Regions from separate parts of the Homo sapiens genome. Here all the other regions are linked to region 1. Evidence: promoter capture Hi-C in 16 types of primary human blood cells and fetal thymus (Javierre and others, 2016). All regions are on one chromosome and are shown on one strand. Each heading gives the region's core, a stretch centred on a gene start or on the middle of the fragment in contact. The rest is flanking DNA. Distances are from core to core; before and after follow the strand shown. Region 1 holds the start of EXT1 (exostosin glycosyltransferase 1). Region 2 overlaps EXT1 (exostosin glycosyltransferase 1). Region 3 overlaps LOC105375724 (a long non-coding RNA gene). Region 4 overlaps EXT1 (exostosin glycosyltransferase 1). Region 5 overlaps LOC105375724 (a long non-coding RNA gene). Region 6 overlaps EXT1 (exostosin glycosyltransferase 1). Region 7 overlaps EXT1 (exostosin glycosyltransferase 1).

Evidence for each region. The method cuts DNA at HindIII sites, captures the fragments that hold promoters and counts their contacts. A CHiCAGO score of 5 or more calls a contact.
Region 2: a contact is called between a fragment that was not itself captured here and the fragment with the promoter of EXT1 in region 1, in 1 of 17 cell types (monocytes). The highest score is 7.1, in monocytes.
Region 3: a contact is called between a fragment that was not itself captured here and the fragment with the promoter of EXT1 in region 1, in 1 of 17 cell types (monocytes). The highest score is 5.1, in monocytes.
Region 4: a fragment that was not itself captured here is called in contact with the fragment with the promoter of EXT1 in region 1 in 2 of 17 cell types (monocytes and endothelial precursors); the score reaches 8.5 in monocytes.
Region 5: a fragment that was not itself captured here is called in contact with the fragment with the promoter of EXT1 in region 1 in 2 of 17 cell types (fetal thymus and endothelial precursors); the score reaches 6.2 in fetal thymus.
Region 6: a fragment that was not itself captured here is called in contact with the fragment with the promoter of EXT1 in region 1 in 14 of 17 cell types (M2 macrophages, monocytes, M1 macrophages and 11 more); the score reaches 17.6 in M2 macrophages.
Region 7: a fragment that was not itself captured here is called in contact with the fragment with the promoter of EXT1 in region 1 in 2 of 17 cell types (monocytes and endothelial precursors); the score reaches 9.5 in monocytes.

What each region holds. Positions count from the first base shown.
Region 1 is chr8:118,110,539-118,113,595 of GRCh38, forward strand. It overlaps EXT1 (exostosin glycosyltransferase 1), which reads right to left and starts at 1,288. Exons shown (of 11, transcript NM_000127.3): 1 at 1-1,288. The coding sequence starts at 508. RefSeq lists silencers at 1,141-1,230, 1,331-1,710. The HindIII fragment of the contact is 5,337 bases long and covers 1-2,081 here.
Region 2 is chr8:117,968,682-117,971,937 of GRCh38, forward strand. All of the region lies in intron 1 of EXT1 (exostosin glycosyltransferase 1), which reads right to left. Among named protein-coding and RNA genes, the nearest start is that of SNORD168, 49 kb to the left of the region's middle. RefSeq lists a silencer at 1,304-1,363. The HindIII fragment of the contact is 378 bases long and covers 1,082-1,459 here.
Region 3 is chr8:118,292,027-118,295,188 of GRCh38, forward strand. The region is part of intron 4 of LOC105375724 (a long non-coding RNA gene); the gene reads left to right. It also overlaps a transcript of SAMD12 not described here. Among named protein-coding and RNA genes, the nearest start is that of EXT1, 180 kb to the left of the region's middle. The HindIII fragment of the contact is 3,735 bases long and covers 1-3,162 here.
Region 4 is chr8:117,929,167-117,932,220 of GRCh38, forward strand. The region is part of intron 1 of EXT1 (exostosin glycosyltransferase 1); the gene reads right to left. Among named protein-coding and RNA genes, the nearest start is that of SNORD168, 9.8 kb to the left of the region's middle. RefSeq lists an enhancer at 1,642-2,199. The HindIII fragment of the contact is 2,208 bases long and covers 545-2,752 here.
Region 5 is chr8:118,345,828-118,349,245 of GRCh38, forward strand. The region is part of intron 4 of LOC105375724 (a long non-coding RNA gene); the gene reads left to right. It also overlaps a transcript of SAMD12 not described here. Among named protein-coding and RNA genes, the nearest start is that of EXT1, 240 kb to the left of the region's middle. The HindIII fragment of the contact is 6,948 bases long and covers 1-3,418 here.
Region 6 is chr8:117,885,584-117,888,705 of GRCh38, forward strand. The region is part of intron 1 of EXT1 (exostosin glycosyltransferase 1); the gene reads right to left. Among named protein-coding and RNA genes, the nearest start is that of SNORD168, 34 kb to the right of the region's middle. The HindIII fragment of the contact is 186 bases long and covers 1,323-1,508 here.
Region 7 is chr8:117,950,401-117,953,863 of GRCh38, forward strand. The region is part of intron 1 of EXT1 (exostosin glycosyltransferase 1); the gene reads right to left. Among named protein-coding and RNA genes, the nearest start is that of SNORD168, 31 kb to the left of the region's middle. The HindIII fragment of the contact is 5,777 bases long and covers 1-3,463 here.

The sequences.
Region 1 (3,057 bases), core at 38-2,537:
ACTGAGGTGACAACTGGTCTCTGTCTAAAGTATCCAGACTCAGGACAAAGAGGCACGCCTGGCTGGGGTCCGAGGTGTAGAACCTGGAGCCCTCGATGGCCGCTAGAATGTTTTGGTAACTTTCGGCGATTTTCTCCCCTTTTTGCTGTGGGTATACGTAGACTTTGAAGCCGTTTTTCTTGCAAAGGGTGAAATCGAAGCAGGACTCCATGCGGCACTTCTTGCCTTTGTAGATGCTGGAGTTGGCATCTCGCTTCTGCCGGGGGGAAATGTGCACGCTGGAATCCTCGTTTTCCAATTGATCCCAAGGAACGAAGGGGCGCAGAGCGTCCGGGAAGCGGGGCCAGAAATGATCCGGACTGGGGTGGTGCAAGCCATTCCTACCGCTGTGTTCTTCTCTCCGGCTGTGGCTCCTCGATGCCCTAAACTGCAAGCCTCCGAAATAAAACAAAAGGGCGAGACAAGAGCCAGCTGAGAGCAGGATGAAATAGCGTTTTTTGGCCTGCATGTGTCCTGCCTGGGTCAAGAGGATTGTAAATAAACACAAGAATCACCCAAGTTTCCCAATCAACACTTTCAGCTCCAGTCCGCCATCTTCCCGCCTGTAAAGACTTCAAACTCTCCGCTCCCACCTTCTCTGGATGCCTTTCCCCAAGCCGTGGACTGATCCAGCGCATGTGGGCGATTTCTTTAACTTTCTCCCCTTCGGTCTTTCATCTTTGGGTTGCACAATGCACGGGAGAGAGCGGGGCTGAATATCTCGCACCCAGGGCGGGCGAGCAGCGGACTGTAATTTTCTTGCATGCAACAAGACGGAGGAAAAGAAAGAGAGAGGGGAGAAAAAAAAAGCTCCCGATACCCAATCAATGGCAAGACGAAGTGATTGCCTTGCCTCTCGGATTCCTCTCGGCAGCGTGGAAAATGAGCCCCGGGAAGGCAACTTCAACTCATCCACCACTCTCCGTGCAGAGCACTCCGGTTCCAACAAGTCAGCCGATCCCGGGTTCAGCCGGCTAGTGCATCTTGCAGCTGGGGCGCCGTAACCTCACAAATCCCTGCATCTCTCTTTATTCCCTTCTGCAGCGGCTCCAAGACTCCGGCGGTGTTTACTCCTGCGCTCGCGGGGCCGGCCCCCGGGACGCGCGGCGGCCCGGCTGGAGGCGGCGGCGGCGGCGGCGCTGGGTGGCGGCGGCGGCGCGTCCTCCCCGCGGGCAGTGCCGGCCCCGAGCAGCGCTTCGCAGGCCCCCGCGCGAACGCTGCCGACCGCCGCGTTCGGTCGCCGAATGTTACCCGGTTCTGAATGTTACACTTACACATTCCATTCCCGACACGACAGCGCTGACCTCATCCATCCACGCAGCCCGCGCTGCCATTGGCCGAGCGTCACGTCCGGGGGGGGCGGTGCTTCCGCTGCGCCCATTCATAACCCCCGGCCGCGGGCCGAGGCGCCGGCGCGGCGTTGGGGGCGTAGGGGGCGCAGGGAGCCGGGGCTCCCGGGTTGCAAGCTGCCGGCGGGCTGCCGGGCAGGTGGAGCGCGGGACGGCCCGGTGCGAGCCCCGCGGCCCCTCGGCGCGCCCAGGCCCGGATCTCGGCCTGCGCCGTGCCGGGGACCAGAGGCGCCTGCGGAAACGCGGCGGCCGGGGAAGGAGGCACCGGCAGGGGCCCCGTGCCGCGCGGCCCCGGGCGCCCTGGAGAATCTGGCCTCCTGGGCTGCCTGCCGGAACGCCTAGAGAAAGATGCTTTGAAGGAGGGAAGCAGGGAGGAAAGGAAGACTTCATAGAAAGCGACCGCCGATCCGAAAGCTGCCTCTCCCAGCCCTCCTTCCACTCTCCGAGACCCAGTATTTCAATTTTCTGCTAAGCATTAAAACAATCTCCCCTTACTCCTCCTCTACATAGCACATTTTTTTAAACCAAAGAAACACCCCAATGCCCAACAATAAAGAGGAATTATTACAATCAAGAGGAATTGTTGCAATTCTTCATGCCTGCCTCTGTGCTAAGAGTGTAAGACGGCTATCCTAAATCCTCATTATCTACTTAGGCCGCCTTGCCTGAGCCCCCTCTGTCTATTATGAAGAAAGCTTCCAAGAGATCCAATCACAGAGAAAAAATAAATTTTCTAATGGCTGCAGGGAAACCAGTTAATTTAAGCTTGCCCCAGTCCTCAAAGTGATGTTATTCTCTTGGTGGTGGTGGTGGTGGTGGTGGTGTTAAAGATATCTCTTAAGGACATATGACTGGTAGAATTGCCAACTGTCCCAGCTATAGAAGGAACACTTGCATCAGGAAAACTACCTTATGTACAATTAGTGCCAAATAGTTGGTCCTTCCCTCACTGACCTCCCACTCCTTGGCCCAAGCTCCTGCCACTCCCAGTGGAAGAACTTCATTAGATAACTCAGGTAACCGAGGAGCAGTCCCGCTAAAGATCCTCCAGGTCCACAAAGATGTGCTAGGCTCCCAAACAGTATCTCTGGTCAAAGTCAAACTCCCTGGCCTCAGATCCTGAACACTGCTTTACAGAAAACACCTCCCACCCTCTGGCCTAGCTAAAGTCTCAGGGCTCGGGCAAGCTAGACAGTTGCCTAGGGCAGCCGGCTGTTTAGTGATTGTTTATTATGGGAGTGACTGAGAGCTAGGAGCAGACACTTCCCGGCTTCCCTCAGGCTGCAAAAACCCCAGCGGGGTGTGGATGAAGGGCAGGGTTATAACAAGGCAGTATGAAATGATAGAGTGGAAAGTTTCAGACCTCTGTTGTTTCAGATTTGTTTTAATAAAGCAGGGAAGGGGCATGGGTGGGACATTACTATACATTCGTGAAGCCTCTCCCTATTTCTGACCTGCCAAAGATGAGACAGCTTTTCCAGATTTGACTTGAACCCCCTGCACAATGTAGAGAGGCCTGGGACAGGAATAAGGATTCAGTCATCTTCCAAATACAGTGACAATGATGCAGATAAAGGCAGTGATTGAAACCACATGTGACCCAAAGCTCCCCCCAGCCCAAGTTGCTAAGAACAACAGTTCAAGGCAGGAGGCCTTCTCTTCTGATCAG
Region 2 (3,256 bases), core at 21-2,520, 140 kb before region 1:
GCCTCAGCCTCCCGAGTAGCTGGGACTATAGGCGCCCACCACGACGCCCGGCTAATTTTTTGTATTTTTAGTAGAGACGGGGTTTCACCAGGTTAGCCAGGATGGTCTCGATCTCCTGACCTTGTGATCCGCCCGCCTCGGCCTCCCAAAGTGCTGGGATTACAGGCGTGAGCCACTGTGCCCAGCCAATTCTGCCTTATTTAAAGCAGTAAATATTTGACTGTAAACTACCTATTGTATACAGCTCTGTCTCTTCCTGATGTCCAAACTGTTTATTAAGCAAAAATAAGTTCTATACCATGGTGGTATATAAAAGAAGGAAAATGCGAAAAGCAGACCCAGTCCAGAGGAGTTACCATCTTTATTGGGAAGATAAGACTTTTACGAATGAAATAATTAGGGAAAAAAACAAAGCGGCCACATTTATTACCAAAAGCCTCGGGGCAGGGTCCAAATCTTTTATGAGAAGCCCCATTATTTGGAATCCAAACTAAGTAAAAATGTGAACAACTGAGATTTGGTCCCTTCCTTGTCATCCCTGTACTGCCACCCAAGAAGATCCTTTTATACTATTTTAAGAGAAATTGAAAATAATAAACAAGTAGATTGTCCTCAGGAATTTAATATTTCTTAACGGAATTGAACAGAGTTTTCCAGGGCAATCTCTTCCACCATTCGTTTCCATAGTATTGTATAGCAAATGGTTGTTTAGCCCAACAAACTAAAAATGTCAACCACAGCCTTGAGACCCTCTAAATTCTATAAAGTGAAACGTCTCACTTTGAAATATGCACATTGATCCCAGAGACGCAAATTCTCTCACTTTTAAGGCTATTGTGAAACTAACTCCAGCTTCATCTTTATGGAGCTGTTTCAATGTATAATTTAAGAAATCACTTCCAAATACTGAAAAATCCGTGAAAATCCTGCATAAATTATGCATGTTTGCGAGTCCCCTCCCTCATGTTGTGACAGATCTGAGCTATGTGGTGGTGGCAGTGGTGTGTGTGTGTGCGCGCGCACGCGTGTATGTGCATGCACATGCACACATGGTGTGGTTGAGATGGAAACCTTTCTCGCAAGCTTATTGAATATTTCCACCTCCTACAGAGCACTCTGAAGAAATGCACTTTTTCAACATTCAGATGAATGTGAATCAGAACGGCAGTTCTCCCAGGACTCATCTTTTATATTGAACGTAGGGTCACTGACAGGATTGAAATGGATCCAAGTTACCTTGATTAGCTGATTTTTAAAAGATTAGAAGCAGCCAGCTATGGACCGGAGGAAGGAGAACTGATTCTAGTGTCTGCTCTACCACAAAAAAGCCATGAGAATTTTAACATGTTACTTCAACCCTCTAAACCACAGTTTCCTTTTGTGTAAAATGAGGGATAAACCAGATAGTCTTTAGGTGGAATTCATGAACTGCCAGCCTGCAGACGTATTTGTTTAGCTAAGCTTAACCCCAAGATCTTTTTTATACTGGAGCACTATAAAGAGGTTTTATGGCATGACTCTCAAATTTTAGTGCATGACAGACTCTCCCAGAGAACCTACACCTGGGCTGTACCCCCAGAACTTCTGACCTAATTGGTTTGAGGCAGGGCTCAGGAATCTACATTTTTTTTTTTTTTTTTGACACGGAGTCTCACTCTGTCACACAGGCTGGAGTGCAGTGGCGTGATCTCAGCTCACTGCAACTCCGCCTCCCAGGTTTAAGTGATTCTCCTGCCTCAGCCTCTTGATTAGTTGGGATTACAGGTGTGTACCACCATGCCTGGCTAATTTTTTTTGGTATTTTTAGTAGAGATGGGGTTTCATCATATTGGTCAGGCTGGTCTCAAACTCCTGACCTTGTGATCTGCCTGCCTCAGCCTCCCAAAATGCTGGGATTACAGGCGTGAGCCACCATGCCCGGCCAGGAATCTGAATTTTCAACAGGGGCTTTCAAGGGATTCCAAGGTACTTGGTCCATGGACCACACTTTGAGCATAGTGGGTTAGTTGAAATTCTTGGTGATCTAAGTGCTCACATCACAACTTAGCAGTTACAAACTTCATTGAGTGGAATCCAAAATCTGACTTAAATGAACCGGAATCACACACTAGAGGAGAGCACATGTGCTGGATGTATCCATGGAGTGCAGCAGTTCTAATGCTGCCACTTTCTGCCACTCACAAGCGGTGAATCCTGGGTAATCCGTTTTTCCATCTGGAAAAATAAGGGCAGCAGGATCATCTCACAGGATTCTCAAGAGGATGAGAAATCTCAGGGGGGTTACCTAGCATGATTCTTGGCACAGAGAAGATCCTCATGCCCTGTTATGTCTTCTCCTGGCCCCATTCCCTTCAGGGGCACTGCACTGCATGGAGCTGGCCTGCCCAAGAAGCACGAGGACACCAGGTGTGCACATAGCTTGCCTCTCGTGACCTCACCTGTGCAGGCTTGCCCTCAGCTTCCCGAAAGAGCAAAATGATCTTAATTTGTCCTGTTTGGGGAGGGAGTGGACTGCAACCACCTGCACTCATTTCAAAACAGACCACTCACTGTAGAAACTGAAAAGAAAACACATTTATTACTCCTCTCCCACAATACTACTTCACCTCCCCTGCCCTCAAAGCCTTAGTAAGTGGGCAAATTCCTAAAGTGGAAATTATATGATAAACTTTGGCCAAGCCATAAAACACAGCCGGGACTAAGGTCACAAAACAGTTACTGATGTATGTTCCCTGATCAAAGCCACTCCATGACACTCACTTTTAGGAGTCAAGGGGACTACAGAAACTTACAGGAAGAAAAAAAAGCAACTTTGAAGATAAATTAGAGAAGCAGTCTACTCATGGTCAAAAGACATTACTCTTTGAGCTTTATATATTAATGAAGATTAAATTCGAAGTTTATAAGCTCTTTGTGATTATTAATAATTCAATTACAAGGAGGTACAGAAGCCATTCAAATTAATATTGGCGATGAAGGGCTAAAGAATGCTCAGCACCCCTGCTCTCCACCAAAAAACCCACTCCATGAATTAATTGTGGTCACGTAAATTATAGATGCTTAATCATCATCTGGGTTGAACTCTTTGCAAATGGTATCCCCTTTCTTGACATTTTTCCAAAAGGAAATTTTTTAGTTATATGCCAATGCATTCAAGATCACCAAAAGTGCTGTTAATAACACAGAAGACCGGGTGCGGTGGCTCACGCCTGTAATCCCAGCACTTTGGGAGGCCAAGGTGGGTGGGTCACCTGAG
Region 3 (3,162 bases), core at 230-2,729, 180 kb after region 1:
TAGAAATTGAATTCTATTGCCCATTATAAATGGCTGCATGCTAGAATCAGGGGATCTTGGTAAGCCTACTAAAATGCATTCTGTGATACAATGGACTTTGGGAACTTGCAGGAAAGGGCAGGAGGGGGTAGGGGGCGAGGGATAAAAGACTGCAAATACGGTGCTGTGTAAACTGCTTGGGTGATGGGTGCACCAAAATCTCACAAATCACCACTAAAGAACTCACTCTTATAACCAAACACCACCTGTACCCCAATAACCTATGAAAAAATAAACAATATAATAATAATAATAAAGTAATGTCCAAAACTGCAAACACACAGACACACACACACACACACACACACACATATTCCGGAGACCTTGGATCAAAGGCAGTGTTCACAGATTCATAGAAAAAACAACAATATAATAATAGCTACCTCTATTTAGTTCTACTTCTTGGCTAGTCTAGACTTTATTTAGTCTTCATTCCATTATCTGAGGACTAGAAATACCATTTGACCCAACCATCCCATTACTGGGTATATACCCAAATGACTATAAATCATGCTGCTATAAAGACACATGCACACGTATGTTTATTGCAGCATTATTCACAATAGCAAAGACTTGGAACCAACCCAAATGTCCAACAATGATAGACTGGATTAAGAAAATGTGGCACATATACACCACGGAATACTATGCAGCCATAAAAAATGATGAGTTCATGTCCTTGGTAGGGACATGGATGAAATTGGAAATCATCATTCTCAGTAAACTATCGCAAGAACAAAAAACCAAACACCACATATTCTCACTCATAGGTGGGAACTGAACAATGAGATCACATGGACACAGGAAGGGGAATATCACACTCTGGGGACTGTGGTGGGGTGGGGGGAGGGGGGAGGGATAGCACTGGGAGATATACCTAATGCCAGATGACGAGTTAGTGGGTGCAGCGCACCAGCATGGCACATGTATACATATGTAACTAACCTGCACAATGTGCACATGTACCCTAAAACTTAAAGTATAATAATAAAAAAACAAACAAACAAAAAAAATCAATAACAAACCTTGCAAATTGGGCATTTTTTTTTTCTTATGCTGTGTTTGAAGCTCAGAAACATTAAGCAACATCTCTAAGACCACATAAGTGCTAATGGCAGAAACCAGCTGAATGTTTTCCAGATACATTAAGGATTACCCAGACCTAGTCCCCTAAGTTTATACAAGAGATGCTGAAATTTACAACAGGGAGATTTAGACAAGATAAAATAGTGAGTGTAAAGTGTTCAGCTGTGGATTTTTAATACAACCAACTCTGATGATTCATGATGACTGAAGGGAAAGTTACTTTGATGGTTACCTTCTTGAGGGCCAGAAAAATGTCTTTTTTTGCCCACATTAGTGGTGACACAGGCTAGGCATTTAACCAATATTTGCTAATGAAAAGACAATATATAACATTGAAAACAGAAACATACAGAAGTCAATTTATATTTGGTTTAAAAATACATGGTTTTCCTCAGCAATTTATGTTCTTAGGAAATTATATCTTCTTTAGGATTACCATAGCCAGTTTGCCTTTATTTACTTATTTTTTAAAAATTTTAACACTGTGGTGAAAATTGGAACCAGATGTATGTTGCTAGAAGCCAGCTGAAGATGCAAAATGCCAATACCCCCAATGTACAGGCAGGTCATAGTTCTCAAAGTGATATCCCCTACTCTCGGGGCTCAAAGCTCACTTCTTCAAGGAATCCCAACTCCTTTCATAACCAGTCTGTTGGCAAAACCTGATTCCCATTGATGGATAAGATGTGGCAGGAAGAGATGAAGGGGTTGGAATGCCAGTGGGAAAAATGTGGTACCCCTTACCAGTCATCAGACAGAAGCCAGCTCTAGCGAACCATTCTCACACTGGATCTCTAAGGCACTCAAGGCATATCTCAAAGCTAATAATACACTGAAATCAAAGTAACATTTAGCAAAACTGACTTAGCTTAGCAGAACTGGCTCCAAGTTTGGGGTATCCTTGCTCCCCAGTGTGATGGCAGCCTGCTGTCATGTCAGACACCTACCTGTCAGGTTAGGTGGGGAAAACACTTACTTAGCAATGAGGCATGAGCTGACATTCAGGGACAAGAGCAGAGAGTCTGCCATGCAGCACTGGAGAGAAAAGCCCTTCCTTCCACACTGACAGCCAGGAATGCCATTTTCTTGCTCAATGAGTGCAAATCTTTTCACTTCTACCCAAAAGCACTGGAGCCTGACTGTACATCCTGACTTTCCCCTGAGCTGAGCAGGCTGAAAAGACTGGCATGGGTTTAAAAAACATGATCAATTTAGGCATGCGGCGTCATCAGCAAATGGAACATAAAGTTAATTGTTTCACCAGAGGAAGAAGAGCTTCAGCAGCTTTCTTCACCAGTCGGGTTGGGAGTGCTTCACGTGCCCTGAAGCTCCTCAATCACCAATAGTTTTATGTCAGGGGGTCCATTTCCAAAAGGTATTTTTCAGTGTGACATTAATAATTTATGAATAGGCCAGCACACAAAACTGTATTTGTAAGAGGGACTGAGTGGTGGGATAAACAGGAACTTAACTTCTTAGTAAAAGCAGAAGGATGAAAACATAAAAAGTAAAATATTTTTTAAAATTCTTGCAATATGCAGAGTATAAATATTATCTCACATCTACTGTCAATAATCAGAAAATAAAAAAGAATCATGTAGGGTCATGCAACGAAAAGTGATACTTCGTACATCCTTTCTCCTGTTATGTGCTCTCTGAGCATCTGCTTGGATCTGGGTACATTAATCTGATTAACGGGAATTTTTACAAGTGATTAGGCTCATCTAGTTAAGGAAGACTGGGATGTATTTTACTCTGTGTGTACTGTCAACAGAATTGTCAACAAAGTTTAGAAAGCAGGAACTGTATTATATAATTATGGAGAAGGAAATGGGGAGGATCCCGCTTTAGTTCACAGTGCTGGCAGTTAGAAAGAAGAAAACAAACTTCTTTTTTTTTTACGTGAAAATTGGGAAAACAGGACATACAAGTCATCTAGATACAAAGGGAATGGAACTTGTCAATTTTTGGCATACAATTCACTTAGAATTCTCCATCACAACATGAACTAAAAAGAACTGATTTCTTCTAATCAGC
Region 4 (3,054 bases), core at 399-2,898, 180 kb before region 1:
TTTCTGTCTATGGGCTAAGCCTGACCAAGCAGTGCCTGCAACACTGAGCTCAAGGAAGAAATACTCCAAGGAAGGTAAAGAAACGCACAGGTAGTAGAGAAACTAACATGAGCTCAAAAAAGATGAAAAGATGATCCACAGGCAGAAGGCTAAATCACAGGAAGTGTCAGCTCTGAGTGCTTCCCTCTTCCTCCTCACTCTGGCACAAATATGATACGAGCACTTCCTCCCTGCTCTTCAATGTGAAAGACATCAGAGACACAACAGAAAACAAAAGACATCATCCGTCCGTTGCCATGCTCACAGACTAGCCAGAAAGGCAGTTATTAGACATGGAGTAGGAACTTAATATTTTTGAATGAATGAACCAATGAAAATTAGTGCCCTCCTCCTCCAAAACCAAAGAATCATAAGCAGGCTCAATAGATTTTTCTAGTAAGTCATCATGACAGATTCCCCATTACTGCTTCTATTAGGGACATAGGGGATGAGACTGAAGGAGTATGCCAAAGGTGAAGATCTTCCCAGAAATTCCTAACTATAAAGCTTTCACAGCCGGATTAACATGCTTCTCTCAGCATGGATATCTATCCGTATATGGGTATGTATCTCAATATGGGCATCTATCTGTAATGTGTCTCATAGAAAAGTGTAAGAGCAGCCAGGCGTGGTGCCTCACACCTGTAATCGCAGCACTTTGGGAGGCCAAGGCAGGCGTATCACCTGAGGTAAGGAGTTTGAGACCACCCTGGCCAACACAGTGAAACCCCATCTCTACTAAAAACACAAAAATTAGCTGGGCATGGTGGCAGATGCCTGTAATCCCAGCTACTTGGGAGGCTGAGGCAGACTTGCTTGAACCTGGGAGGCGGAGGTTGCAGCAAGCCAAGATCGCACATTGCACTGCAGCCTGGGCAACAGAGAGAGACTCCATCTCAAAAAAAAAAAAATAAAGACAGAAGAGAAGAGGAAGAGTTTGCCAAATGGGTGATCTTGTCATTGATCAAGAAGTGCAAGACTACCTATCACTCATTGTCATCCCAACCAGTGGGACCAGTCAACATCTTTCTTGAGATATTCACACCTCAAGAGGAAGAAATGAAGTACCAAATGAAATGTGGGGAGCGGAAGGGTGGAGAATGACAAGTGTCAGCCATCATTTCTCCCCAGGCTATGAAGACAGGCTTAAGCAACTAAATGCAAATTAATTACTTTATTCATATATCAAAAAAAAAAATAGGACATTTACACACACAAGCAAGACTCAAAGACATAAAGACTTCTACAGTTGGAAGATTATAGACTTATCTCTAAATATCCACATCTGGTCAACCCCCATCCCCAAAAAAACCTTTTCTAAAAATGGATCAGTGCTAGAGTGATGTGGGAGAGGAGAAGAGAGTGTGATGGTGAAGTGTCCATCAAGTTTTAAATACATATTTCTATATTTATATAAGTAACATGACAAGTTGACAAAGTCCTTTCCAACAGGCAGACAGATTTGTCAGAGGTGTTTGAACCACAGTGACTCCATCTTGAGTAGGGGCTGGGTAAAATAAGGCAGAGACCTACTAGGAGGCTGCATTCCCGGAAGGTTAGTTGTGTTTAGTCATAGGGCGAGATAGGAGATCAGCAGGATACATGTCACAAAGACCTTGCTGATAAAACAGCATGCGGTAAAGATGCCAGCCAAATCCCACCAAAACCAAGATGGCAACAAAGGTGACCTCTAGTCATCCTCACTGCTCAATTATATGCTAATTGTATTGCATTAGCATGCTAAAAGACACTTCCACCAATGCCATGACAGTTTACAGATGCCATGGCAATGCCAAGACGTTATCTTATATGGCCTAAAAAGGGGAAGAATCCTCAGTTCCAGGAATTGCCCACCCATTTCCTGGAAAACTCATGAATAATCCACCCTTTGTTTAACACATAATCAAGAAATAACCATAAAAATAGGCAATCAACAGTCCTCGGGGCTGCCCTGCCTTTGGAAAGCCATTCTTTATTCCTTTACTTTCCTAATAAACTTGCTTTGACTTTATTCTATGGAGTCGCCCTGAATTCTTTCTCTCACAAGATCCAAGAACTCTCACTTGGCGTCTAGATGGAGGCCCCTTTCCAGACATGGATACATTTCCTGTATATACTCACACAGACATACATATGCCCTTCAAAGGAGGCATGCTTAGAAATAAAAATAAATAAATAAATAACTGATATATTAGCAATTGATAAATCTTTATAAATTATAAACTACAATGATATATATATTTTGTGTGGGGCGGGGGTGTGGGAGGTCTATGAGAGAGGGAGGGAAGGAGGAAGAGAAGGAGATGGAAAAGGGGGAGGTGGGAATAAGAGAGGGGGAAGCCAGACACCTAGGCGTGGTTATTGGCTACACATTGAGCTGGCTGTTTTACCAAGGTTATCAGTCTTTCAGAGATCAATAATAAAATGATATGAAGAGAACGAGGATACCTATTTTCAAAAATATGCTTCCAAAGATGTCTGTTGCCGGACATGCTGGCAGAGAATAGCTGCATGATGCAAAATTCCATTACTTTATCATATCCATCTATGTTTTAGGTATATTTCTTTACCAGGACATCATAGCCTTAAAAGTCACTCAAGGTTTCTATTGCAGCTAAGGTCAGAATCCTAAAGTTGTGCATTCACTCCCTCTGGGTCCTAGATTTTTGATCACTTGAAATGTTCTGTTTGCAAGTCGAAGCAGTGAGTCTCAAGCTTAAGTAATTATGGACCATATATGAAGAAGAAAATGCCCACGCGGAAAATAAGTCAAGTGAATGCATTTACTTTATTTTTATTGAAATGTAACTTATTATGCACAAATACAAATTTTTTAAAACAAAAGCAATTTAAATTATTTCAATTCGAAATTACGTAGTTTTACTAAAACTCAATTGTCCATATTGAATTTTGCAGTAGAAAAATAGAGTCTCAGGCCAAGTTATATATTTGAGGTTTTTGGGGGGGTGCTTTAACTTCTAAATGTTAGAGTGTCTATTTACATAAGCATGAAAA
Region 5 (3,418 bases), core at 240-2,739, 240 kb after region 1:
AGACACAGTTCCCCACCCATGGTAGAGGATATGCAAATATAACTTTTGGCATCTGGAAAACACATAAAAGGAAGACAAGTCAGCCATGAAGAATGTGGAGGAGGAGGAGTACCAGGAAAGGTGCTGAAAGAACAGATGCTGGGGCTAACCACCGTCTCCATTTGGCTTGTCCTGCACCGCAGCAGCCTACTTGCTCTCTGGAGACCCTTGGTGCATCTGTTTATTCTGTAAAATGAACTCAGGGAAATCATAATTATCGAGGGATGTCACAGGCTCCGGCATGAGGCCCCAAAAGCCATATAATCCCTTTAGTAGGGTTTTCTGATTAGATGTAGTAAACAAACTTTATAAAACTATATAAATTATATATGTAATTTTATTATAATTTCATACACATGGTAATATAGATTTATACAAATAATTTTAATATGGGCTAAAGAGCTAAATCTAAAAATGGAAGAACATAAAGGATGGTTATGTCTTGAGGCTACTGTTTCCAGGCTTATCCTTCCCAACTGAATATTCCAGAAAGGTGGTAGAAATGTACTAGTCAGTTTTGCTCTCTCAATATATATTCAATCTATGTGTCCCAGGCAGGAAGAAAGTGCTATTCCACATGAGCCTTCGGAACCCTAACATTTTTCACCAAAAGCCCAGAATAATTATGTGGGCTAATGTCTGCCTCTAACTTGTGGGATTGAACAGCTCCTCAGGGCTGCATGCTGTAGAACAAATGACCCATGAGATGTTAAACGGCATTGAGAGGGAAATAATTTTCTGGATGTGACAGGGGGTCTCTAAGAGCAACCCCAGGTTCTGCGATTCACTAGGAGAACTCACAGGACTCAGCATATAGTTGTATTCATGGCTAAGATTTACTATAGCAAAAGGATACAAAGCAAAATCAACAAAGGGAAAAGGCACCTGGGACAGAGTCCAGAGAAAATCAGGCATGAGCCAACAAGAGTCCTTCCTTTAGTAGAGTCATACAGGATGTGTTGAATTCCTCTAACAAGGAGTTGTGACAACACATGTGAAATGTCTATGAGGCAAGCTCATCAGAGACTCAGTGGCCAAGGTGGCTGTTGTTGTCAAAGACAGGGTCTTGCTCTGCTGCTCAGGCTAGAGTACAGTGGTGCAGTTACAGCTCACTGCAGCCCCGAATTCCCGGACTCATGGGATTCCTCCTGCCTTAGTACCCCTTTACCCCCATGGCCCACCTTGAATAGCTGGGACTACAAGCACGTGCCACCATGCCTGGTTAATTTTCTAAAACTACTTTGTAGAGACAGGGTCTCGCTGTGTAGCTCAGACTGGTCTTGAACTCCTGGGCTCAAGTGATCTTCCTGCCTTGGCCTACCAAAGTGCTGGAATTACAGGCATGAGCCACTGGGCCCAGTCTCAGTGTCCAAGGTTTTTAGTGGGGATCCTTCCTAGCATGTGCCAAAATTCTAGGCTCCCAGAAGGAAAGCAGGTGTTCAGCATAAATGACACTGTTTATACAAACAGTTCAGGCACAGTGAACCATTCTGGTTAGGGAGTGTGGGAACCCTCCCAAAACCCAAGTTTTCTAGACACCAGCAGGGGCCAACCTTGCAATCACAACCTTCTAAGGAAAACAATCTAAGGCCTGCTATGTTAACTGCTTTCTCCACAATGGTCTCAAATATGTGTAAAATGTGGGGAAAGGTGGGAAAAGTCTGGATACTACAGCTTTTTGAAGATTAATAATGCATATTAGCATATTAAAGGGTTTGAGAAGTACTACACTATAAAAGGCTGTTTTTTAAATGTATATTTTCCAAACCTATTTGACTATAATATTTTTTAAAAAGAACACTTATAACATCCTGTTGATACAAATGTTCTACAGAATACAATTTGTGAAATCCTGGACTAAATGGATAAACTTCCATCACTTGTCTGGCTTCAGTTTTCACCATCATCAAACACACTAGTAATAATAACTAGCTCTTACATAGCTCTTACTGTGTGTTAAGAGCTTTTTTATAGAATAACTTATCTAATAAGAGGTTGAACTAGGCTACCTCTAAGCATGGCAAAGTGGCACAGTCAGGGGTTAACATTGCACGCACTGAATCTGACTGCCGGGGCTAGTTTCCCAGCTGTGCCAGTGATCAGCTGTATAGCAAGCTCCTTAACCTTAGTGTGTCTCAGTTTCCTTACCTGTAAAACAAGAACAGTGCTTAGGACACATCAACTGCTACAACTGTGTTTATTACTCATTTTTATTTTTTATATTTTTTGAGACAAGGTCTCAATCTGTGGCCCAGGCTGGAGTGCAACGGTGCCCTCTCGGCTCACTGCAGCCTCTGCCTCCCAATATCAAGTGATCCTCCCACCTCAGCCTCCCAAGTAGCTGGCACTACAGGTATGTGCTACCATGCCTGGCTAAATTTTTGTAGAGACAGGGTTTTGCCATGTTGCCCAGGCTGGTCTCGAACTGCTGGCCTCAAGTGATCCACCTGCCTCGGCCTCCCAAAGTGTTGGGGTTACGGGCGTGAGCCACTGCTCCTGACCACTTATTACTTTTTTTTTTTGAGATGGAGTATCGCTCTGTTGCCTAGGCTGGAGTGCAGTGGTGTGACGTCCGCTCACCGCAAGCTCCGCCCCCCGGGGTTCGTGCCATTCTCCTGCCTCAGCCTCCCGAGTAGCTGGAACTACAGGCGCCTGCCACCACGCCCAGCTAATTTTTTTGTGTTTTTAGTAGAGACGGGGTTTCACCGTGTTCGCTAGGATGGTCTTGATCTCCTGACATCGTGATCTGCCCACCTCGGCCTCCTGAAGTGCTGGGATTACAGGCGTGAGCCACCGCACCCGGCCCGCTTATTACTTTTTTAAAAAAGTAAATGAAGTTATTTCCAGCTCAAGCTGTTTTGATCCTTTGCTCCGTGCTATGAATCACAGGAAGGCACAGACAACAATCCTGTGGCTTCAGAGACTATAGGATGAGCTGGTCAGACAAAGGTAGCCTGAGGGAACCAGAACAGTCCCAAGTGGAGTTGGCCCACCTGGGCCGAGGAAGCCCTGACACTCAAGGCCAATCAAAGCCAGAAGCCAATTCCAGGAAGTAAACACAGACTGTCACAGGCCAAGAGGCACCATTAATTTCCTGGGAGTCTAGGACCGAGGCCAAGAACAGAAGTGATCTGCTTTTGACTGTAAATAGAGCAAGACTCTAAACAGCCTTCAATTAAACCTGGCAATTTTATCCATATGCTTGGAGAAAGGTACCTCACAAGAAAATCCCCTCTGAATCAAGAGTCATACAGATCTTCATGGTAGAAAAAAGAACAGGGAAAGATGCCAAATTGAAAAATGACAAACTGCCACTAGAATAAGCCAATTTTTAATATGCCTTAACACCTTTTGTTTACCCCTTCTCAAGCTATCTCCA
Region 6 (3,122 bases), core at 166-2,665, 220 kb before region 1:
ACAAAATGGTAACATACCATTAGAGGAGGGGAAACTATTTCTTGGCTTAAAATGTGATACTGAAGTTCTTCAAGAGACTCCTACCAACTTGTTCCACCAAGACTTTTCTTCCTGTCCTGTCTCTGTATTTTTGATAGCCATTCACATATTCTGAGGAAATTTAGAGCTTCTCCCTAGTAGATATCCTATGAAAGAATTCATTAATCTTTTTCCTTCTCTCATATGTCACTATAATCCACATGTACACCTGGGGGCTTCCCAACTCCATTATCTCTGTAAAAGCCAGCATTTCTGTGGACTGCTCCAGTGGACATTGGCCCTTTGACCTTTAATCAAGGGCTGGCAGGAGATCCTAGAGTATGGTGGAATGAGCTTAGAATTTTGAGCCTATTGAACCTGGTTTCAAATACCAGTTAAAAGTTGCATGACTGTGTGCAAGCCAATTGTGTGACCTCTCCCTGAATCTCAGTTTTAAAATGTATACGATGGAACAAATAATAAACACTTCACGAATGAGATGAATATATTTACTAAATACCTGACATATAAAGATCAAAAAATAGCAAAAAATAGCAAAAATAGCAGTATATATAAAATTGTACCTTGTAAATGAGCTGGCTTCAGAATAAAGTTTTTGTTTGTTTGTTTTGTTTTTTGGTATTTCAGGAATTAAATCCTCTTTGATGTAGTACAAAATGGAAACCACCTTATACTGCACTGAATTCATTCTCATGGTGAATGCTATTCACTAGGGTTCCAGTGTTCTGTTAGTTTCTTTCCATTCCAGTGGGAGCTCTACTAGAAATACTACTACACAAGTGGCATGCCAGTCAATTTGATGACACAAATACTTGGTGCTACCTGCTATGTCCCCCAAATATAAATGAGCATGAATACTCCTACTTTCAAAGACAAAGCAGTTAGGTTGTTGACTTAGTAAATAGCTACTAAAACAAATTGCCACACTACTCAACTTATGTGACGGATGATTCTCCTGCAAGTTGGCTAAGCACCAAAATGTCAAATTCCAAAGAAAAGCTACACTTTAGAGATAAAAACTAGATATTTACCCAGTCATCAGCCACCACTGGGCAAAATCCTGCAGAAACTCCTAGATCTCTGCCATCTGCCTGTTCGTCTCATTCCATGTTCAAGGCAATTATGTCCATTCCCATTTGTCAATTTCAGAAGGGGTGGTTTCTACCTGCTATGAAGTGGTGCTTAAATGGGCAAAATTATTCAAGGGCTTCAATCTTCCTAGCTGGAAAACCCAAATAATATAGGACAGAGGTTAAAAGCTTAAGATTTAAAAAAAGAAAAAAAGCTTAGAATCTGAAGTCAGATGGCCAGAGTTTGAATCCCAGTTTTATGAGTTCCCAGCTAGGTGACTTTTGGCAGGATAACTGATCTTTCTGTACCTTAATATGCATCTATATAACAGGAATGAAATAAATCATAGTAGGCATGCCATTGACGATATAGCCTCTGTTTAACAGTTCAACCAAGAAAGCTTTCTTGTCATAAAATGGGATCACCTTTGTCTTTTATTTGTAATATATAACAAATATTGTTATGTTTATGTTCTAGACCATACCTTAATTTTCTAAGATATCTATTGGCCAATTATTTTTTTAGGTAGGTCTTTCAGAATAGTATTTACGTGACTCTGAGATATTTCCTTCTCCTTGACTAAGGCAGGAGAAATTTTCCAAAAATATTTTGTAAGGAGTTTGCATCAAGCAAAACATGTTTCCAGGAACATCTTCAACCCTTTTTTCTTTTGCCTTGAGACACAGTCTCACTTTGTCGCCAGGCTGGAGTGCAGTGGCACGATCTCATTTCACTGCAACCTCCGCCTCCCAGGTTCAAGCGATCCTCCTGCCTCGGCCTCCTGAGTAGCTGGGACTACAGGTGCGTGCCACCACGCCCAGATAATTTTTGTATTTTTAGTAGAGACAGGGTTTCACCATGTTGGCCAGGATGGTCTCGATCTCTTGACCTCGTGATCTGCCCAGCTTGGTCTCCCAAAGTGCTGGGATTACAGGTGTGAGCCAACATGCCCAGCCCCCTTTCTTACTCTTTCTATTCATTAGTTTCTCTCTTTCTCATTGCTTATCTGACCTCTCTTTTTGATCAAATATCCATAATTTAAAGGATTATTATCAAGAAACTGATAAAATACAATAAGACTATTATATTTAAATATAATGCCTCTTCTCGGGCCTGGCACGGTGACTCACGCCTGTAATCCCAGCACTTTGGGAGTCTGAGGCGGGCGTATCACCTGAGCTCGGGAGTTTGAGACCTGCCTGACCAACATGGAGAAACCCTGCCTCTACTAAAAATACAAAATTAGCCGGGTGTGGTGGTGCATGCCTGTAATCCCAGCTACTCGGGAGGCTGAGGCAGGATAATTGCTTGAACCCAGGTGGTGGAGGTTGCGGTAAGCTGAGATCACGCCATTGCACTCCAGCCTGGGCAACAAGATGAAACTCCATCTCAAAAATAATAATAATAATAATAATTAATAATAAATAAATAAATATAATGCCTCTTCTCAGACCACTAATTTTTAAGAACATAGTAAAAGCAAAAAGTCTGCAGACTTGCAGAACCCAGACAAACATGCAGTTCATAGAAATACACATGAAGTCATTTTCACAGAGGTTATCATTTTATGCTATAATGAACTGTGTCAAGATTATGGTGAAAATAAAAATGATAGATGATATAATAATAGATTAAATAAAACAATTACATTCATATAGATTCATGGTCCTTGTGGATGGAGACAGCATGAGTTTCAGATCTTCAAAATTGGTTGCTTAACAGCTTGGGAAATCGGCTGAATAAAGTAATATAATAGTTCTCATTCTGCAAAACCCCAAAGGCCATTGCCACATAGAGTCACACCACTATATATATATATATCCTAGAAAGGACAACATGGGTTAGTTAAGTGTTCTATAAATGGCCTAGAGAAAGCTGAATGCTTGCTGGACACCCAGGAACCTCACCATTTTCTGATCTCAGATTTTAGCTAAATGCCCTTAAAACATGGCATCTAAGGAAGCCAGAAGCTGATGTTTCTCTTTACGGTGGACTCTCTTGGGATTCCCTAT
Region 7 (3,463 bases), core at 820-3,319, 160 kb before region 1:
GATTTACACTGAGTACTTTGTTCAGGGTTCAACACATTTTACATCAGATAATGCCTGCTGTTCCCATTTTTCCTAGAAATGGGGTATGAGTACAATTCCTGTTTATGTAAACTCCTGCCACAATGAACCTTTACTTGGTCAAGATAGGATAACACGAGGGCTAAAGGAAAGAGGCCACAATAGGAGAAAAGCTATCTTCTGCCAATATCAGGGTCAAGTCCAAATTGTCCCTTTAGGGCTTACCCTGATAGAACCAGGGATAAACACATTGGGAGAAGAAATGAGTTTAAAAACAGGCACAGAAAGAGATTTTTAAAAATAGGTATATTGGACCATTAGAATAGATGGACTATGAAATGTACACAAAGATGTTATTCAAGTTCACCTTGATTGTTTTACTGGGTCCTAACCAGGAGCTTTCTGTAACTAGACTGGGCATATCACCCTATCATATGTTTAACAGGTGGACTGTACTGGCTTTCTACATTGTACTCCATGAAGAAACAAAAATTTTTTTTTTAAAAGTTGTAAGTTTCTATACTTATAACCAAAGAGGCAAATTATATTTTGGGGGGAGCCTTATTGATTTTTGGACCCCAAATAAGATAAGGATTAAATCAATGTCAGAAATAATAATATGAATACACATTAGTTAAAAAACCTAATTGTATTTGAGATCATTTCCTTATGGAAACCTTTTCTGAGAGCTAATCAATCCCTCTGTAAAAGGAGAAAGTGAGAGAAGAGGTAATGTTTTAGAGTGTTATCGTGACTGGTTATTTTAAGGGAAGAACAGAAATAACTTGGCAACCAGGAGTCAATAGGAATGGAAGTCTTTCTGAAATGATTTGTATATTTCCCTACCTAAATTGGCCTCTTTTACTCATCTATCTTTCACATGTTATACAAAGCCTGTTTATGAAAGTGAGAATATAGGTTCAGGGTCTCACAGCAAATGGGATAATGGCATAAGCAGACTCCTGTTTTTGTGATTTTCTCAAAAGACATTTCATATTTTGTAATTCAGTAACCACAGCACCAATTTCTGAGATGTAAACTTGATTCATGTATTCATTCATACATTCATACAAACTAGACCCTGGGAACACAAGGGAAGAATGAGTCATGGCTCTGCCTTCATGGAAGATACCTGCTGCCTATGGAAAAAGACAAATAACAAGAACCAAAGGAATTATGACTGTGATAGAGACATAGACAAATGACTATATACAAGCCACTCTTCTGGCTACTCTTGATTTAGAAATTATCCTCTTTATGTAGACCACTTCCTCTGCTGGTAGCACACTTAATAGATGACGTGGACTATGTCAGGTCTATAAGCTACAACCCATGGCCAAATCTGGCCTGCCACCTGTTTTGGTACAGCCTGCAAGCTAAGAATGATTTTTACACTTTTAAAGCATTAGGAAAAAAAAATCAACAGAAGAATAATATGTGAAATTCAAATTTCAGGTTCTTAAATAGTTGTATTGGAACACAGCCACACTCACTCATTTATGTAAGATCTATAGTTATTTTCAAGCTACCATGGCAGAATTGAAGAGTTGTGACAGAGACCATATGGCTCACAAGACCAAAAATATTAACTATTTTGCTGACCCTGGTTTAGATGGTTTGGACCTTATCTAACATAAGAGTAAATTAAACCAATGTCAGAAATTATTAGTATCAGAACACATAAAAACACAGCTCCTAGTGGCTTCCAAAAGAACTAATTCGGTAATTACCCTAGGAAAATCACCCAGCACACATCAGTCATAAAAATCCTGTTTTTAAATACACATCACCACATTCTGTCTTTATTAAATAGCATACACATTACTGGTATAGGTAATAAATTATGAAATACTACAATGTTATCTGAATACAAAGTTAGTGTCAAATTACTTTTAAAATATAGTTGGTTCATACTTGTTCAAAAACTATTCGGCAAACATTTACAGAGTAGTACTGCCTTCCAGGTAGCCTGCTAAACAGCAGAAAAAGGAAGATGAGAATGACAGTCATTTAAGGAATCTATGTTTAGAAGGAAAATATAATCAACCCTCAAAAAATATGGTGAGACACCAGGCGCAGTGTCTCACACCTGTAATCCCAGCACTTTGGGAGGCCAAGGTGGGCAGATCACTTGAGGTCAAGAGTACAGCTTGGCCAACATGATGAAATCCCGTCTCTACTAAAAACACAAAAATTAGCTGGGTGTAGTAGTTCATGCCTGTAATCCCAGTCACTTGGGAGGCTGAGGCACAAGAATCGCTTGAACCAGGAGGCGGAGGTTACAGTGAGCCAAGATCATGCCAATGCACTCCAGCCTGAGCAACACAGGGAGACTGAAAAAAAAAAAAGTGGATGAGAAGGCATTTCATAATAAAGCCTCAATATTCTTTTCCCCACTTTCAGTTTTGCATTGGCTTAAATGAGGTAAGCCATGGAAAATGGAAGATGGATTTGTGTAGACCAAAGAAGTTCATGAATTTTATAGTAAAATAAAGGTTATTCATCAATTGACATATTATAAGCCATATTTTGTAAATGACTGAATAGTAGAGTTAGAAAGCCAAATATTAAATAGCTTTCAATATTGCCAAGAATGTCTGTGTTTTAATTATCTTAATTAATTTGCCTTTCTTCTTTTCATTCACTTTCCCCACTGTGTCCAAATAACGATTCCCTCTTTTGTTGCTCCAGTCTTCCAGGGATTTGTAGACTGTCACCTTATTTTGAACTCTGATCCAGCTGGCTCCTCAGCTGTCACTTAGCCAACTATACCAATTATATAGAGATATATAGTTAGATAGATAGATATACATATATATACATATATCTGCTATAATCTTTCCCTATAAGACCATTCAGCTAGCATAACCATGCTAGACTGCCATTCACTGAATAAAACCTAGTGTTTTACATTGAATAGGGATACATCCTAAAGGCTGGGACCCCAGATTATAGGAGAAATGATCATTCTGCTCCCATGATTCTGCAAATGGTTTTTCTTAGCACTGTGAGCCCCAATGAAGCAAACAGCCTCATCAAGTACTCTCTCAGCTACTCTGCTTTCTCCACTCCACCTATCTCGTATCTAATCTGTGGGTCACATGTATGGTGACAGTGCCACCGTGGAAGACTCAAATGCTTATGACTCAATGTGCCAAACAACCAGCGCCAAATTACTGAGAGTGAATGATGCCTCTGCTCCCATTTCAGATTAGAGTGTGTTATGCAGCCATGTAGTTGGGTCATCCCTGCAACTGTTTTATCACCTCTCCCATTCTTTAACATTTCTTATAAAACCAATATATTATGATGCCTTCAATATTGTCATAATAATAATACATACAATGTATTAACAAATAAACTCTCCTGTAGTCCCAGCTACTCGGGAGGCTGAGGCAGGAGAATCACATGAACCCGGGTGGCGGAGGTTGCAGTGAGCCAAGAT